Linked DNA regions of Homo sapiens: region 1 is linked to region 2. Evidence: promoter capture Hi-C in human tissues and cell types (Jung and others, 2019). All regions are on one chromosome and are shown on one strand. Each heading gives the region's core, a stretch centred on a gene start or on the middle of the fragment in contact. The rest is flanking DNA. Distances are from core to core; before and after follow the strand shown.

Region 1 (2,700 bases), core at 184-2,683, 260 kb after region 2:
TTTTAATTTGTAGAGGTGACTGAATGATAACATGGAGAGGCAGAGGCTCATGCCACTAAGCTTTTTATGACTTACATTTCCCGAAAGGAGGAGGCAGCCCCACTATGCAGACCACACGGGGAAACACCAGTGCCATTCAGAAAGCAGAAAAGAACGAGGGGAAGGCAGAGGCCACCGCCTTTACTGTGTTTTCCGTAGGAAAGGCAAGGCGAGTCAGGGGAAACAGTTTAGGGTTAGCCAGTTTTAATAATTCTGGCAGGCTTTGGGACATAGGAGCTATCCCTGGTTGGCTGGGTTTCTAGTCCTGTGTTGATTTAGGGCAGGAAATATTGGCTTAGTGTGTGAGAGATAAAGGAAGTGGTTAGGGAGATGGACTCACTAATGCTTGGTTTACATATGAAAGGAATACTGGACGGCAAGTTATTTATCATATTAGGAATTAACTAGCTCTGGGAAGGACAGTCTCTCCCCAGCCCTCAAGCCTTTCTATTCCATCAAAATATCAAAACATCATAAAATACAGAATATAAAAAACATGATTAATAAATGCACTACTCTACCACCTATTGTGGGAAGGTACGTATCTCACTATATTGTAACACATGTCCCAAACTTGCTATGTTGTTTCTTGAGAGCAGACATCTGTCTATCTTGTTCACCACTGTAACCCCTGTGCCCGGCATGGGGTCTCTGGCACTTGGTATATGCTCAGTAAATATTGACTGAATGAAAGAATGAATGGACAGCTTTCTATCTTGTATACATAGTTCGTGTTTCACCTGGAAAGCACAACATTTTTTTCTAAATTTAGATTTTGCTCTATCAATTAATTAAAACATATTTTCATTTACTTTAAATGTGAGGGTTTTTTTCTTTCCTTTCAAAGTTTAATCTGGCTCAGCAGTATAATGTATTACTTAAAACCCTATAAAGAGAATGACTCATCTCTACATCCCTGTGTCAGCCAATGGTTCTTTACTGGGGATAATGTTGCCACAGGGGACATTTGGCAATGACCGGAGACATTGTGGTTGTCACAACTGGCATCTAGTGGATAGAGGCCAGAGATGCTGCTAAACTTCCTGCAATACACAGGACAGCTCCCCTAACAACAAAAAATTATCTAACCTAAAATGTCAGTTGGTCAGGTGCAGTGGCTCACACCTATAATCCCAGCACTTTGGGAGGCTAAGGTAGGCAGATCACTTGAGGTCAGGAGTTCGAGACCATCCTGGCCAACATAGTGAAACTCCATCTCTACTAAAGATACAAAAATTAGCTGGGCATGGGGGCATGCGCCTGTAATCCCAGCTACTTGGGAGGCTGAGGCAGGAGAATCTCTTGAACCTGGGAGGCAGAGGTTGCAGTGAGCCAAGATCATGCCACTGCACTCCAGCTTGGGTGACAGAGCGAGACTCCATCTCAAAAAAAAAAAAAAGTCAATAGTGTTGAGGTTGAAAAAAAACTTTATTAAAGGATGGTGTGTTGACAAGTTTACCTAAAAAGACCTCACACAACCAACCATGTCCCCAGACTTCTCCATGAAGCAATTACAAGGTAACTTGCTGATATCTTAGAAGTAAAGACAGCAGCCCTAAGGGGAAAAGTAATTTTCAGAGGAGAAAACATTGCAAGCTACAAGAGAGGGGCTCGGTATCAGAGCAAATAATTAGGTAGATTGAGACATGGAATGACAATGCTGAAGTCAGGGTTTAGCATGAGAACCAAAATCATAGGCTTTTTAGCTGACAGTTAAAAGGTATGACTAAATTAACATAAGTGATGTGGGGGAAGGGAACAATTATATAGAATTTATAACTTCAAAGTTGCTCTCTTTAAAATTTGAGTTGTTTTTTCATGCTAACATGCTGCCGTTGATCAAAGAGATGCTGTCATATCTTTTTGGAACTGTCTTCATGTGTCATGCTCTTTTGAATATCATCAGTGGTAGTAAACATTGCCCTCTGAGGCAGGAATTTGGTTTTAGGAAAAAATTAAGTTACTTGAACCCTATATAAGATGAATAAGGAAAGTCATCCATACTCCCAATGCCATTTTCATAAAAATTGAGGACAGGCTATAAATTAAGTAAATCTGACTCTAAAGGCAATTTTAAAATGAGTGTTAGAAATGTCTTATGCCAAATCAACATCACTGTGCTAAGTGTGTACCTCTCAAGGTGACTGTTTCAGGAGGAACACTCATATTGAGGTGTGTGTGTTAGCAAAACGTTACTTGACAGTTATGTTGCTTTCAGTGCTACATACCTACGTGGAAGTAACGCCACATTTGTGTACAACCAAATTTCTGTTAAGATGTTTATTAAAGATATTACTGTGCTTTTTACATGTTAAAGTTTAATTTCTAAGCTGTGATACTACTCTTCAAAATCTGGGAATTCCTAGATTAGGCAAGAATTTTATCCTCAAGTTCTTTTCTTTGATGTCAGCTTTACTTTGGCCACATAGGCTTAATCTAGGATGGCTTTTTAGTGTCAAATCAAGTGCACATTAAGTGTACTTGAGATAGATTAGTGTTATAAAAGGATAATTAATAAAATAATGCTACCAGTCTACTCGCAGTAGACTACCAATTCATTGCAGTTTGCCTGGGACTGTCCTGGTGCTAAAATTGAAACTCATACTTCTTGGGAAACTCTTTAGTCCTGGGGAAATCAAGTTACCCCAACCCCAGTTTCTT
Region 2 (2,700 bases), core at 187-2,686:
CTTTATAGACTCTAGGGCCTATCACAGTGCTTGCCATATAAAATGCTCAATCAATATCAACAGATATTTAAGTGAATAATTGCCTATTCTCACCATTGGTAAAATTTAAATCAGTATTCAACTTAAATGATTGCCAGATAATACAACTGATTTTTAAAGAAATACACTTTAACTCATATGGACATAAATATTTTACAGTATCCAAGTAGTGCTGACATTACTCAAGGAATTGTTTAGGACTACTTGTTCAAAATTGTCTTTCAGACCTAGTTCTTCGGAAATACATTATAATTATTTCTATAAAAGTGGGCATGACTAAGTAGAATCTAGTCTTGCCCACTTTTGGCCCAGCCTGACTCAACTGGTTTTGATCTGGATGACTTAATATTATTTCTGAAAATTAAATCTACTCTGAAAGAACAGACTTATTACTAATTTTGTTAAGTACTTACCGCGATTTCCAATTAAACTTGAGGCAACATGATGTCTTACTCCACTTCCGCCACTGTAGGCTTGAAATAAGATGGCAAGTGTGGTGAATAATAATGGTAATAACTCAAATAAGACTTTGGCCTTTGCTGCCATCCTATGAAGACAGAATCACCACCCCCCAGCCCTCACCCCTCACCCCCGCAATCCGAGTAATTTCAGGAAGCTATTTGTTTCCTTATCCTTGGGTTATTTTCAGTTAAGACAAATGTACAAGCACAAAAAGGAGTCTCTTAGCTTCTGACTCCTAGGACATAAACCAAGACACGCTTTACTATCACATACTCATTTCCCTAAAGGGAAGAAGCCAAAAAATGCATACTATAGTAAAATGGGAAACATTTCAAGGGACAGTAAGGTGTGGGGAAGAGTGGGCAGATGTTGTGGCTGTTACCTGCGTGAAGGTAAATAAAATATTAACAATAACAAGCACTTCTACACCGCTATGTGCAAGGTGCTATTTATCCTTTCAATCACAGCTCTGTGAGGTAGACACTTATGACTCCCATTTTACAGATGACAAAACTGAGGCTCACGAAGGTGGTTAACTAGCCAAGGCCACTCGTCTAGGAAGTGAGAGGCCAAGGTTCAATCCTAGGCAATCTGGCTTAAGTTTGTGTTCTGTTAAAAAAAAAAAAATTAAAGGTTATCTGGCAATTTTTTAAACGTCAGGACTGTCATCTGTGGAATCAATTGAAAAGGGAATCAACACTTCAGAAACTGTAATACACCAAGGGAACCTGCTATCCTGGGAAAGAGAGATAAAGGAGAAGTCAGCTGACTGTCCTCCTTCAGACTAGCTCAGACCACCCCAACCTGCGAGGGCCCTGGAGACCCCTGTGGCGCAACAGATCCCTTACTGGGTCCCTTCCAAGTGGCGTCACATAGCAAGCGTCCAGAAGGAGGCGGGACTTCCGGGCCAAGCGAGCCAATTCCGGCCGCGCCGGAAGTCTCTACTGAGGAAAGCTATGAGGATACTCTGTTCGTAAGCTCCCGGTGAATTTTGTTCCACAGACTCGGAAGAAAGGTTGGATAAGAGTTCACTGGAGATTGACAAGTACTCGGGATAGTGAAAAGCCGGAGTTGGAACATGGATAGCCGCTTGCAGGAGATCCGGGAGCGGCAGAAGTTACGGCGACAGCTCCTCGCGCAGCAGGTCCGCGGCCCTGGTGTCCCCTGTGGGAGGGATCGAGAATGCGAGTGCGCGGCCGCCTCCTCCCTCCACACCCCGCCTTTTTCTGTCCCTTCTCTACCTGCCGCTGTTAAGGCCTTTCTGGTCCTGCGATCTTGATCCCTGGTTCTGCCTTTGTAGTTCTCAATTTTCGCGGTGTCCCGAATGTTTTTCCAGTTCCTTCCGCGGTCTTTGTGGTGCTAAACCGAATGCCAGGATTAGCCTTTAAGCTTTGTGGAACTCCCACCGAGTGTCTGGCATGTTCACGCCAGGATGAGTGTCATGTTATCCCCTACATTTCTCTTCACTATTAAATGGTCATCTATTTCTTTCTTTTCTTCGTCGTCAGCCCCAAATTCTTGAGATTGTGGTTTCATTATGAAATACGTTTACAGTATTTTCTTTGACATCTTTCTGAAGACAACACTGGAAGTAGCCTGAGTGTAAATTTTAGATTCTGCATCTTATATAGAGTATCCTTGTCACATCCACAGTTAATATTTGAAATCTTACTCTGTGTTAGTCACAATAATCTCCTGAAACAGGTATTATTACCTTCACTTATCAAGTAATGAAAAAGGCTCCATACGTTAAGGAATTTTACTCCTGGTCGCTCACTTCTCTGCTGGGAAATAGAACCTAGGTTTGTCTCCCCAAAGCTTGTCTTCTAAACCATTGTCCTTCACTTCTTTCTTGTGTATGAGTAAGTTAACATTTGCTGATTAGTAGAGTGCACATGCAGAAAATACAGATTGTGCACAGTTCTACTTAAAATCGAGGCTGTATTTTCCATTCTACTATTCAGATCAGTAAAAGTGATAGGAGCAATGCTCATAGAGTGTAATTAGTCATCTTGCAGTTATTTTTCAGTAATGAAACTTGGTTTTAGTAAATGGACTTCTGAAACCTATCCTCTTTATGGTCTGATGAACAGATTTGTGGAATATGGCTAAAACCGTGGAAACTTGGAGTCAGATTTGTTCCTTTGTTCCTTATCCCGCTGGCATTACGATCTTGGGCAAATCAAGTATCCTTTCTAA

What was found. Contacts are between HindIII fragments. The study calls those that stand out against the background at their distance.
Region 1: a contact is called between a fragment that was not itself captured here and the fragment with the promoter of METTL14 in region 2, in 2 of the 25 tissues and cell types used here (lymphoblastoid cells and mesenchymal stem cells).

What each region holds. Positions count from the first base shown.
Region 1 is chr4:118,941,683-118,944,382 of GRCh38, forward strand. The region is part of intron 1 of SYNPO2 (synaptopodin 2); the gene reads left to right. Among named protein-coding and RNA genes, the nearest start is that of SYNPO2-AS1, 42 kb to the right of the region's middle. The HindIII fragment of the contact is 4,120 bases long and covers 1-2,700 here.
Region 2 is chr4:118,683,956-118,686,655 of GRCh38, forward strand. METTL14 (methyltransferase 14, N6-adenosine-methyltransferase non-catalytic subunit) reads left to right here and starts at 1,437. Exons shown (of 11, transcript NM_020961.4): 1 at 1,437-1,645. The coding sequence starts at 1,580. METTL14-DT (METTL14 divergent transcript) reads right to left here and starts at 1,386. Exons shown (of 7, transcript NR_125930.1): 1 at 1,350-1,386; 2 at 453-512. RefSeq lists enhancers at 1,396-1,655, 1,836-1,975. The HindIII fragment of the contact is 10,452 bases long and covers 1-2,104 here.